3 separate regions of the Homo sapiens genome follow, and regions 1 and 2 are each linked to region 3. The links are contacts of gene promoters, found by promoter capture Hi-C in human tissues and cell types (Jung and others, 2019). All regions are on one chromosome and are shown on one strand. The core of a region is centred on a gene start or on the middle of the fragment in contact, and the rest is flanking DNA. Distances in the headings are between cores, read along the strand shown. Region 1 overlaps RNF169 (ring finger protein 169). Region 2 overlaps C2CD3 (C2 domain containing 3 centriole elongation regulator). Region 3 holds the start of KCNE3 (potassium voltage-gated channel subfamily E regulatory subunit 3).

Region 1 (4,400 bases), core at 922-3,421, 290 kb before region 3:
ACTCCCATGGGAGTGATCTCTCTAAAGTTCAAAGATGAATTCCTCTTTGAAACTCCTCAGTGGATCCTCATTCCTTAGCATGGCACTCAAAGTCCACTATTATTCAGCAACTGCCAATTTCTGCAGTCCCACATGCTTCCACTCTCCCACATGCACTCTATACTCTAACCACTTCTGTTTACAATCCCTAGAACGCTCCTTGTTTCATGTTCCTATGCCTTTAAATGTACTATTTCCCTCTCTCATCTTTATTCTGACCTCATCCACCTAATGAATACTGATGGTCAAATGTCTGGCATTCACTGAAGCCATTCCTGACCCATCCAAACTAGATTATCTTCTTTGTGAAAATACCTTACATTTGTTGACCTAGCTCTTCATATACCAAGCATTGTAATAATTCATTTAGTCTTTAACAACAACCTTATGATTTTAATACTATTACTATTCCCATTTTCCAAATGAAGAAACTAAGACACAGAGAGTATCCAATAACATACAGCTATAAATAGCAAAGCTAGAATTTGAACCCAGGTAGTCTGTCTCCAGGTTTTCCTCTATTAGCCTGCTCTATTAATATATACTATACTGCCTTCTACAATTATATCTTGCATAACAGCTATTATAATACTTATAATACCACATTTCAGTTGCATATTTACATCCCAATCTTCCCAACTACACTTTGGGACAGAACCATGCTTTACCTCTATTTGCAGCTCTAGTGCCTAGACCTAGCACACAGAAGACCCTCAAATGGTTACTAAATTAATGAATGACTGAAGTTAACACTGCCACAGCCAATGCTTTAGTCCAGGCCCTCTTCGTCGCTTGCCTGAACTACTAAAACAGTCCCCTAACGACTCCCCACCTCCAGTTTCTACTCACATCTTTCCTCTTCCAACCAATATATATTGTCTTTCTAAAGCACAGTATGATTATGTTATTCCACCACTTAAAAATCTTTAAGAGCTTTATAGGATAAAGTCCAAAATTCTTTTACCCTAATACACAATGGCCTTCATGATCTAACTTCAGTCTCTTCTCTACTTCCCCACTCCAGTCCACACTCCACCTATATTTAGCTTTTTGCCAGTCCCTGAACATCCCAAGCACCTTCAAGCCTTTCTACATGCAGGCTCTTCTACCTGGAATGGACATCCCCTCCTTCCTCATCTGGTGAATTCCTACTCTTTCTTCAACATACAATTCAAATGCCTTCCTCAGGCTTCCTGCAAATTGTCAGTCAGCCCATTCCTCTACTCTGTTAGCATTGTCTGTTTACCTCACTTAACACGTTGTATTGTTATTTGAGTATGTGTTTCCCCAACCACACTGTGGAGTCTTAAAGAAAAGGTACCATGTCTTATTCATCTTTTTTTATTGCATCATCTTGCACAATGTGTGCCCCTCAAAATGCTCACTGAATTAGTGGAATGAAATTTAACAAACATATCCTACATCATATACTCAAGCCAACTCAGATACAAATTAATTCAAGGTAGGCAACTCTTTCAGGATTAACTAGAAGACAGGGAGTGAAAATATGAATAAACAAATACCTCCTAAATTCCTGCTGTTCAATTCTGAATTCATACATTGGAGCTATTCTTCAATAGTAATTACTGTTTAGTTGGTAGAGTGCATGTAATCTCATCAAGAGCTTTAAAAAACATCTTAGCACAAGGCAAATGTTTCCTGTATTGGTATAACACATAAGGACACTCTCAAATTCTCGGATATGTGTCATTAAGGATAAAGAAATGAGTCATTTTACATATTTTAAACAAATCCTTACAGACTAGGGAATTCCTGTCCTCTTGCACTACAATCACATGGTTTCATTATTCATTAGTCCTAAATGTAATTTAGGCTGCACACATAGCAAACATTGTCTGTCAACTGAGTAATAAACCAGAACTACTTGCTTTTCACAGAAAGGGGAAATTTTTTAAATGCAGAAATGTTAACCCTAAGTGAACAGGGAAGTTGAGATGGGATGAGAAGGGATAAGTAAGGCACTATTCAATTGTTTATCTATTCAATTTTCGTGTTTTGTTTATTTGTTTTTCAGAGAGAGTCTCGCTCTGTCGCCCAGACTGGAGTGCAGTGGCGCAATCTCGGCTCACTGCAACCTCTACCTCCCGGGTTGAAGCGAATCTCCTGCCTCAGCCTCCCGGTAGCTGGGACTATAAGCGTGCACCACCACGTCCGGCTAATTCTTGTGTTTTTAGTAAAGACAGGGTTTCCCCATGTTGGCCAGGCTGGTCTCAAACTCCTGGCCACAACTGATCCGCCCACCTCTGCTTCTCAAAGTGCTGGGATTACAGATGTGAGCCACCGCGCCTGGCCTATCTATTCAATTTCTGAAAAGCACTTTTAACACCACGAAGATAAAAAAATTTAAACTGCCAATTTAAAAGATTCACCAGCCTTTGTCTAGCTTTTCTTCAGTCATTACCCATAGCCGAAGAAAAAGAATCCTAAAAAGTAAAAAGGTCTCGGTTTCAAATCTAAAAGCAGTATGATTTGGAATAACCATCCTTGATTTCAAACAGACTAAATGAATTCTTAAAATTCATTAATCATTTTTAAATGATGCTTAAGTGTGGCTGCAATGTATAGTTCAAAATCTACCTATGTAAGCCTGTATGGTAAGTATGTTTTTTAAATCAACAGATAAGGAATGTCTCTAAATTTAGAATATAAGCTCCATGAGAGAGAGAGATCTTTAATATTTCATTCACTAATGTTTCCCAAAGACCTGGCACAGAGTAGACACATATTACATAATTCCTGAATATTGCTCAAAATGGTCCAAATATTTAATATGTCAATATATACGAGTTGCAGATCCTCAAAGAATATGAAGTTGAACTCTGAGTTCATTTTGAAATGATCACTGATGTAGCCTTTACACACACAGTTTCACAAATCAACAAAAACTGATACTATATCCAAAAGCAAACCGTGAATGCATAAAAGAATTAAATAAAACATGTACACAGGGGTCATTAAGGTTCTGAACCTTAAAGCTTGCCAAAAAAGCAGGCAAAGAACAAAAATGTCACCAGTGCAACCAAAATTTTCAAGAAAACACAAACTCTTTACACTTTTTCCACAAAGCAATTCCTAAAGAGGCACTGGACTTCAACAAAATAAAAAAAAAATTAAGAACGTCACTTAAATACCAGTGCATTTACTACAAAATTTCATTTCCAGCAGGCCTGATGTTTCCTTTATCAATTGATCCAACTATGTGATGAGAATACAACTAAGCAATATATCTCTGAATATTACTAAAATTGCTATTAGGCTGGTACAAAAGTAATTGCTGTTTTTGCCATTGAAAGTTATGGCAAAAACCATAATTACTTTTGTGCCAACCTAGTAATCCTGTTGCTGTTTCCACTCATAAAAGCACAATGTAAATATTTATAAAACTGGTATTATTAGTTTTCCTTATTAAAGCTATTATGAACATTTCACTGTGAATTAGGCTGTTTCTGTTGACCCTTTTTCATCTACTATCAACTCATGTAAACTCTTACTCTCTTATCTGTTCTGGGCCTCAGTTTTCTCTTCTGTAGAATGAGAGACATAGATTAAAACAATGGTTCAAGGCTGGGCGCGGTGGCTCACCGCCTGTAATCCCAGCACTTTGGGAGGCCGAGGTGGGTGGATCACCTGAGATCAGGAGTTTGAGACCAGCCTGATCAACATGGAGAAACCCCGTCTCTACTAAAAATACAAAATTAGCCGGGCGTGGTGGCGCACACCTGTAATCCCAGCTACTCGGGAGATGGAGACAGGAGAATCGCTTGAACCGGTGAGGCGGAGGTTGCGGTGAACCGAGATCATGCCATTGCACTCCAGCCTGGGCAACAGAGCAAGACTCTGTCTCAAAAAATAAATTAATTAATTAATAAATAAAATAAAACAATGGTTCAGATTCTGGTGAAAGCTACTGGTGACTTCTCCATAAAAATGCACACATGCATTTACATAATGATTTTATAAACAATTATTTATAATAGCAAAAGACAGGAAACAATCAAAATGTCCACCAATAGGTGGTTAATTATGCTATATCCACTCAGTAAAATTCCATACAACATACTGCTGTGGACTTTGATGATGTATTCTTAAACCAAAAAAAAAGCAAGTTACAGAACAGTGTGTATAATGTACAACCTTTTGTATAAAAATGGCAAAAAATAAGCATACTTGAATTTTCATGTAGATAGATCCATAAACTGTGGAAGAACAAACAAGAATCTTTTTTTTTTTTTTTTGAGACAGAGTCTTGCTCTGCCACCAGGCTGGAGTGCAGTGGCATGATGTCAGCTCACTGCAGCCTACGCCTCCCAGGTTCAAGCGAGTCTCCTGCCTCAGCCTCC
Region 2 (4,613 bases), core at 676-3,175, 300 kb after region 3:
CGTGGTGGCTCACGCCTGTAATCCCAATACTTTGGTGGCTGAGGCAGGAAGATCACTTGAGGCCAAGAGTTCAAGACCAGCCTGGGTAAAACCCTGTTTCTACAAAAAAATTAGATTCCACATGCATAGCAAGACCCTGTTTCTACAAAAAAAAATTTTTTTAATTAGCTGGGCATGGTGGTGCACACCTGTAGTCCCAGCTACTTGGGAGGCTGAGGTGAGAGAAATCACTTGAGCCCAGGAAGTCGAGGCTGCAGTGAGCCATGTTCATGCCGCTGTACTCCAGCCTGGGTGACAGAGTGAGACCCTGTTTCTAAAAAAGAAAGAAAATGACAGAAAATGAAGAGATAAGACATCAAATATTAGTTCACAAAAGTATGTGCTCTAACCAAAAACTTGGAAAAAGTATGCTATTTCTTAAGCTGTGTGGTAGGTATTCGCATTATTATTATTTTATTTACTCTTTTGTGTACATATTTCACTTAATACAAAATGCAAAAAGTAAACTAATTAATATGTTGTCACATATTAGCATGAACCATATTTTTTTCTCAAGCCATTTTTATTACACTTAAGGTATTAAGACAAGTGCAAAATAACCTTGTAATTAGGATACTGTATCAGTCAAAAAAGGAGAAGTCACTATTGCATGAAGAGATTTACAAATGAGTGAAATATATAGGCTGTGCCAGAATTAACATTTGAAATGAGATGGGGTTGCTCTTTTTTTCTAGGCTGGAGAGAGGTAGTAAGAACGATTATATGAGTTCCTCAGATAAAAATAACATATAAAAAAAGAAGAGGAAATGTATCACATTTTACAATTTTTGAAATACTTTCAAGTCTATCATCTTATTTGATGTTTAAAATCATTTTATTTATTTCTTCGTATCTATTTTATTTTATTTTATTTTTGAGAAAAGGTCTCTCTCAGACAGCCGGGCTGGAGTGCAGCGATGCAAACACAGTTCACTGTAGCCTCAACCTCCTGGGTTCAAGCAATCTTCCCACCTCAGCCTCCTGAGCAACTGGGAATATAAGCACATGCCACGACACTCACCTAATTTTTGTATTTTTTGTGGAGATGAGGTCTCATTGTTGTTCCCCAGGCTGGTGTCAAACTTCCATACCCAAGCAATCCTCCTGCCTTGGCCTCCCAAAGTGCTGGGATTACAGGTGAGCCACCATGCCTGGCCACTTTCTTCATATCTATTTTACCTTATTCTAAACAGAAGTTAAGGCAATTGCAAAAACATGTTAAGTACAGATTTCTGTTTAACTAATGAGAAAACCTTTACATTTTAAATCTTCATAACTTTTTGTTTACAGAAAGTGAAAATACAGTAGGAGAAATAAGATGAAGCCTCTGCAGAGCACTAGAAAGCATGCTCTGAGGCCCTGTACATTTGCAACGGGTATTATCCTGATTTTCTGAGTGACGAATTTGAGGTTCAAAGAGTTAAAAGTAACTAACCCAAGGTTACCCTGGCACCAACCCTAAATTCAGGGAGGCACTTGACTCCGAAATTATTGATACTTCTATTGTATTATACTGCCTTAGGAAATAGAAGGATTATAGGATTCTGAGATATGCCTCATACTCTTACATCTTTCTTCCTTTACGTTTTATTCTGTTGCAGAAAATAGCAGCCATGAAAATGTTTGGAGCATGGAACTACTAGAGTAGAAACTGAGAAAATTATGGCTACACTACGTGATTTTTACCTGTCTTTGATCAGATAGGATTCAGTTAGTAGGAATGTGAAAGACAAATCGGAGTAGGAATAGTGCTGGACAGTAGGGATTCTAATTCCACAACAAGTGAAGTATAAAGGTCAGAAGTCTACTAAGAATTAAGCTTTTTGTCCTAGAAGTGATGAATAGTGTAGTGGACTTATAATTAAGTGTAGTGGACTTATAATTGGATAGAACTGAGTTTTAGCCCAGTTCTGTCAATTTAAAGCTGGGTGAACCTAGGAATATACATGACTTTGCGGAGCCTCTTTTATCCCCAAATGAAGACAGAAACACCAGTATCGTAGAGTTGTTAAGAGAATTAATGAGATGTGGAAGACCCTGGCTGTTAGTAAATAGCCAATGAATACATGTTAGTCCATTTCCCTTATTCTTCATGTGTACATCATTTTATAGTCTACAAAGCACTTTTATATCTATTTGCTCATATGACTTTCAGATAACCCCCATGAGTGGTGTATTAGTCCATTCTCATGCTGCTATAAAGACATACCTGAAACTGGGTAATTTATAAAGAAAAGATGTTTAATTGACTCACAGTTCCACATGGCTGGGGAGGCCTCAGGAAACTTACAATCATGGCAGAAGGGGAAGCAAACACGTCCTTCACATGGCAGCAGGAGAGAGAAAAATGAGTGCCCAGCAAAGCAGGAAGCCCCTTATAAAACCATCAGATCTCGTGAGAGCTAACTCACTATCATGAGAACAGGATAAGGAGAACCGCACTTGTGATTCAGTTATCTCCCCCGGTCCTTCCCATGACACATGGGGATTATGGGAATTACAATTCAAGATGAGATTTGGATGGGGACACAGCCAAACCATATCAAGTTGTTACACAGGGACTATGATATGTCAAGTAATTTGCCTAAAGTCATTTACCAACCATTCAGCAACTACCATGTGGGAAGACACTGGACTGTACTAGTGTTCTGCTTGCAGCAACCCCAGTTCCTCAGAACAGCAGTGATGCGAATATTATGAGCCTACTTTACAGACAACCATGGCTTATACAGAAATAGCTTGTGAATATTGCAGTCAGAACACAATCACAAGTCTTCTAATAATAATTCCTACATGCTTTTCACTACAGTATTAACAAATGCTGAAAACGAACCATTTTCTCAACTTTGGTTAAGAAAATACCAGAAGTTAAACTGTTCTGAAATGATCTGAGATTCCTTATGCATACATTATATTTCTTCTCCTCTGGGCATGAAGGTATTAGTCTAAGTGACCAAAGAGTATAGTTGAGAAGTTTATTTTCATTTCTCTTGGTTCCAAGTGCTCTCAATAGCTCAGTGGTCCAGATATAACCCAAGAGTATGCAATTAGATACTCCTGGGAGGCAGGGACCAACCCTTGCAGCTGTGCAAGGGCAATCCTTTGTCAATTCAAAACTAGAAATGGTGAGAATGAAAACTGAGATTTGTTGCTCTGTGTGTCAAAACCAAAGCCTGAGTTATTGGCAAATACATTTAACAATACTCTTTTAAGGGTATTTTTCTTATCAAATACTTGCTATGCTAAATATTTTTGGTCAGTTGATTTATTTTTTCCTCAGTGTGTGGTATTTGTTGTTGTTCTGTGAATCTTTATTGTTCTTTTGATCTTGGGTTCATACTCCTCTACCCCCAGAATGGTATGATAAGTGATTATTTGAAATTAAAATACTTTTTTAAGTTAAATTACTTTTTCCAGATAGTTTTGTTATCTCTGTTATAGTTTTTAAATCAGTTGTATTTTCTATCAGTTGTGTCACTTTTTTCATTAGGAAATACATGCACATGGTAAAACATTTTAAAGGTATGAAAGGTTACCAGTCTCTTGTGTATCTTTACACAAGAATATATTTACTTATAAAATAAATTCTATACTAATAAAAGCTCTTTGCATAATTTCTTTTATTTACACAGATTATATACATATACAGTCAGCACTTTTTTTTCTACTTAGCAATTCATCTTGGATGTTGTTCCATATCAGTATAGAGCTACTTATATTCTTTTTATTACTTTATTTTTCACCATTTTGCCATTATTAAAAAAACACATTTTATTAAATATTCTGGTACATAGATCAATTTACAGCTTGTAAAATAAAGTTTAAGGAGTAGGCTAGCCTTGGTGCCTCATACTTGTAATCCCAGTACTTTGGGAGGCCAAGATCAGGGGATCACTTGAGGCCAGGAGTTTGAGACCAGCCTGGGCAACACAGTGAGACCTTGTCTCTACAAAAATAAAAAAAATTACCCCAGTGTGGTGGCGTGTGCCTCTAGTCTCAGCTACTTGTGAGGCTAGGATGGGAGAATCACTTGAGTCCTGGAGTTCGAGGTTGCAGTGAACTATGATTGTGCCAGTGCACTCCAGCCTGGGCGACAGAGACCCTGTCTCAAGAAAAAAAAAAAAAAAAAAAAAGTAGAACTTCATGGAAAAAGGAATGTGCTTTTGTACTTTTTTGAGTTATTGCTGAATTGCTTTCCAGTTAACCATCCTATTAGCAACTTATTAAAGTACCTAATTCCCCTCACTTTCACCAATGCAATGGTGTTATCCAACATAAAATATTTTTTTTCAAGTTAGAAAGCTTTTCCGCATATACCCCTCTACCCACGTCTTAAAAAAGAAAATAAAAGTAAATGAAAAATATCCATGTTGTAATTGTTTCTGGTTAGATATGGCTGTGCTGGTGCTGGAAGTAATCACCAAACTTGATGGTCTTCCAATTGGTAGAGTTCAGATCAATGGACTAGCTCAACTTTCTCCAACCCATCAAATCAATGGATTTTTTACCATTGTTTCATCAACGTCTAAGAAACTTGGAGAACTCCAGGTAAAAATATATTTTAATTATTTGCT
Region 3 (4,271 bases), core at 406-2,905:
GACCAAGCCAGGACTGCTTCCTCATGGCTAGTCTCAAGAACCATTTGCATCAGAGTCATTTGGAAATCTTGTTTGAAAATGCTGATTTCTAGGCTCTACTCCAGATTTCCTGAATTAGAACCTCTGGAGTGGAGCCCAAAAGTCTACTTAGTAAAACAAGCTCCCCAGGGGATTCTTAGGCAGATTGAAAACTGAGGTTGCAGGATGGGCACAGTGGTTCATGCCTGTAATCCCAGAACTTTGGGAGGTGGAGGTGTGCAGGTCACTTGAGCCCAGGAGTTCGAGATCAGCCTGGGCAACATGGAGTAACCCAATTTCTATAAAATACAAAAATTAGCCAGACATAGTGGTGTGTCCCAGTTACTCAGGAGGTTAAGGGAGGAGGATCACCTGAGCCCAGGAGTTCAAGGCTGCTGTGAGCCATAATCACTCCACTGCACTCCAGCCTGGGTGACACAGTGAGATCCTGTCTAAAGGAAGGAAGGAAGGAAGGAAGGAAGGAAGGAAGGAAGAAAGAAAGGAAGGAAGGAAGGAAACTGAGATTGCATGCTTAGGTGATTAGGATGACTTTTCTGAGAGGTGATCTCCAGACTGAGAAAAAGGAATAGTAGGGTCAAAACAAGGTGGGTACAATATACCCACCTTGTATATTGTATACAATATACAATATACCCACCTTGTAGTAGGTCTTTTTAAAACGATAGCACTTCTTAGATATATTCTGGGATTCTGTAATTGAGAGTATGTGCTTCAGATATCCTGGAGCAGACCTTTGCAAGGGAGTGAAAGAGCTGGCCTGAGGCTGTTATTAATTATTCTGAGGCAGTGAGCTGGTAAAAGGGCACCCCACAGGGTCCCCCGGAGAAATTCTCTGCAACTGTCCCTTCCTCTGCCACTAGCCTCCTGGCTCTTATTCCTCAGCTGCCCCGGCTGCCCCAGTTCTCTGAAGCCTGCAATGTCACCAGCAAGGAAACAACAGTTTGAGTGAGGGCATGGTGGTGGGAAAATAAACTGTTCTGGGACAGAGATGAGTAAGGTGCGGCTGAACACAAGTTGGTCAGGCACTGTCACGAACTTTTGAGGCTTGGTGGAGGAAACATTTGCTGGTGCTACTCAGAGACAGAGGGGTGTGTAGTGGATTTTGGGTCTGGGCTCTGCTACCTGGGCAAATCCCTTCTCCAACTGGGCCTCTGCGTCCTGTGTGGAAAAGAGTTTGTGTAAGAATCATATTATTTTGCTGTTGACCCTTTGGTTTTAATACTTTGGACTCAAAGGTCTCATCTGACCTCAACCATAAGCCTGTGAAGAATGCATGGAGGAACTGTACCAACTTTACAGCCAGGCCAAGGCCCAGTGAGGGGCAGCGACTCGCCCACCACCACACAGCCACACTGGAGCAAAACCGACTCCTGGAGATCGGCCTCATGCTGGGCTTGCTGAGGCCCAGCGGAGCGAGAGGCTTTCGGTCTCTGGTCCAGGAAGCAGGCGCTGCAGGGGACGGAAGGGTCGGAGCCCACAGCCGGGGGAGGCCAAGGAGCTGGGCGGAGGCACTCCAGGCCAGCCCGGGGAGAAGTGGGTGTGCTGGGGCCCGGGCGGGGCAGGGGGAGGGGACGCCCGGGGGAGGGAAAAGGGAGCCGAGCGCGGGTGGGAGCCCAGAGCCAGAGAGCGCGCTGGGCGGTGCTGGGCACCCGCGGAGTGGAACGGGGCTGGTGGAATGCACAGGGTCGCAGCGCTTGGGCCACCCTCGGTCAGAGGGCGCCGTGTCCAGCGAGCAAACGGGCGCCCCGGAGCCTTGCTGAGAGGCAGGTAAGGCACCCACCCAGCTGGGAAGGCTGAGCTGCGGCCTGGGGTGGAAATGAGGGGTCTTCCCGCCTCCCTTCCAAGGGCCACGGCGCGCTCTCCGTGAGACTGTGGAACCGAGGGGGAGTGGGGGAGGGGTGGGCGCTGCAAATACCAAGCTAGTCCTCCCGGATCCTCCCCGATCCTCCCGAGCGCAGTGATCGTGGAGCAGCATGTGGGAGTAGGGAGCTGGGCTCTGCGCGCCCCGTCTGGAAACCGTGGGGACTTGCGCCGTTATTCCCAGCCCTCAAGACGGCCACAAGAAAAGTTCCTCCACACCCACAGACGTGCAAGCGAACACTTGCAGCTGGCAGCCAGTGCACACGCAGAAACGACATTTCAGGACCCAGCACAGTCTCATTTGGCTGGAGCCACCGGCTCTGCGGAGCTGACTTGCCCATTCCCTCTACACCTCACTGTGTCCTTCACCCTGTCTGACCTAGTCCCGGGAAACCTGGTGACTCCCAAAAGCATCTTCTGCTGCCAGTAACATAGGTCGAGGCTGGGAGTCGGGAGACTTGAGTTCTAGTTTACAGGCTGTGTAAACCCGGGCAGTCATCCCTCAGCTCTGCGCCTTGTGCTCGCTTTTCCTGGGCCACCATTTGTAAAACGGGCCTCCTGCTCCTGTTGCCTGCATACCCCATGGGACAGAAGGGGAAAGGGGGATTGGACCTCAGAGTCTCTTATCTCGAAAATAAATGAGTTTAGTTCTTGCGTGAAAGCCCACCAGAGTATCCCTCCTAAAATCCTCTCCACTAATTTGCATATAGGGAAACTGATGCCCCAGGGGAGATGATTTACCTAAGGTTACAACAGAGACCAAACAGAATTAGAACCCAAGTTTCCTCAGTCCTAGCCCAGGGCTCTCTCCACTTCACCTACAAAGGCATGTTGTAAACGTGTGAGCTCCTCCTTATTTCCTTGCATCCGTCCACTTTGTCTGTTCCTGATGGAGGAAGACCCATGCTGGGGGCCTAGAAGCTGCTTTCAGATTTTCTTGACTCCTTGAGATGATAACCATCACCTTCTCCATCCCTCACTCAGTCTATACGTCTCAAAGCACATCCATAAACTTAATGTGCGAGTGCTCAAAATACCTTCTAAGAGGGAAGCAAGACAAGAAACTCCATCTTACTGATGAGGAAAATGAGGCCTAGAGGGATATAGACTTAGAGTGATAAAGTTACTTAACCAAAACGCACGGCTAGACGTGTTGGCCTAGTAGGGGCAGGAACCCAGGTCTCCTGATTCCCCCTCTGATGTGTTCTCCACCAGCTACAGGACTACAGAATGGTACCCCTCAATGATAAGGGACTGCGGGAATGATCATAGAGGGTAGGAAACAGGAAGGCTTCTGGAGAAGGTGAGGTTCCTGGGAATCAAGAAGAATAATAAGAACCTCCTGGCTGCTTCTGAGGCTAGGAGACCTGGAGTGGGAAAGGAGACACAGAGATGGTTGTTCTTGGTAATATGGGGGGAAAGGAAAGATGTGGAGACAGAAAAGGAAAACAGTGTGACCAGCCTGCCTGATAATTATCTTGTATGTTTGCAATTTCTAAAACATTCCCATCTCTTGTCTCCTCTAGTTCTCATGTGTGGTAGGCAGGGCAGGGATCATTATCCCCATCTTATAGATGAGGTTCAGAGGAAGTAAATGCAGTGCTCAAGGACACAGAGCCAAGCATACAGCCAAGATTAGAATCATGAAAGGAACACTTGAACGGCAAGATCACAGGCTGAGGGACTGGGGAGTTGGACTGTGTGTGTGTGTGCAGTGGGTGGGTGTATGTGGCCACACCCTGGGTAGGTACACAGGGAAGAGGGTTGCAAAGCCATTGCTGGTGTTTTGAGGCCAAGAATGTTTGCCCTTTGGATTGAATGGGGTCCAGGTGCAGGGAGCATCTGGGCTTCCAAAGAAGGCTTAGAATTCTTCCTCCTCTGACTCACCCCACCTGACTGAGATGGCTTCTTTTCTTTGAGCCATCCCTTCCCCAGACCAAATGAAATCTGTTTTGCCCTGCCCTGGAGGTTGCTTTTTAAATATTGTAAACTGTTTTCATGAATGTATGTGCGTGTGCCAGAGCGGGGGAATGCTCTTAGAGAAGAGGCATTGATTCATTTATTCTTGAATGCCTGCTAGGTATCAGGGCTGGGAAATAAAGAAATGTATGAGGCACAGGACCCTGCCCTCTTACCTTAAAGCGCACAGTTACACACATACACATACACACACACACATACACACACACACACACACACACAGAGTTTCAGTACAGTATAGTGCTCTAATAAGCCTTCGTGCAAAGCACTTTTGGGAAAAAACAAGAGGGAGAGACTAACTGGCTAGGGAGTGAGGAAGGAGGAGTCCCAGGAGAAGGTCTGCAGAGATGAATTGGAGTTGGGTCTTGAAGGATGAGTAGGAGTTTGCCAGG

What was found. The method cuts DNA at HindIII sites, captures the fragments that hold promoters and counts their contacts. A contact is called where the count stands out against the background at its distance.
Region 1: a fragment that was not itself captured here is called in contact with the fragment with the promoter of KCNE3 in region 3 in 1 of the 25 tissues and cell types used here (spleen).
Region 2: a contact is called between a fragment that was not itself captured here and the fragment with the promoter of KCNE3 in region 3, in 1 of the 25 tissues and cell types used here (dorsolateral prefrontal cortex).

What each region holds. Positions count from the first base shown.
Region 1 is chr11:74,752,491-74,756,890 of GRCh38, reverse strand. The region is part of intron 1 of RNF169 (ring finger protein 169); the gene reads right to left. Among named protein-coding and RNA genes, the nearest start is that of RNF169, 5.8 kb to the right of the region's middle. RefSeq lists enhancers at 941-1,562, 1,562-2,141. The HindIII fragment of the contact is 4,097 bases long and covers 123-4,219 here.
Region 2 is chr11:74,161,373-74,165,985 of GRCh38, reverse strand. It overlaps C2CD3 (C2 domain containing 3 centriole elongation regulator), which reads left to right. Exons shown (of 33, transcript NM_001286577.2): 3 at 4,430-4,587. Among named protein-coding and RNA genes, the nearest start is that of C2CD3, 7.3 kb to the left of the region's middle. The HindIII fragment of the contact is 6,904 bases long and covers 1-4,613 here.
Region 3 is chr11:74,464,933-74,469,203 of GRCh38, reverse strand. KCNE3 (potassium voltage-gated channel subfamily E regulatory subunit 3) reads left to right here and starts at 1,655. Exons shown (of 3, transcript NM_005472.5): 1 at 1,655-1,806. The HindIII fragment of the contact is 14,037 bases long and covers 1-4,271 here.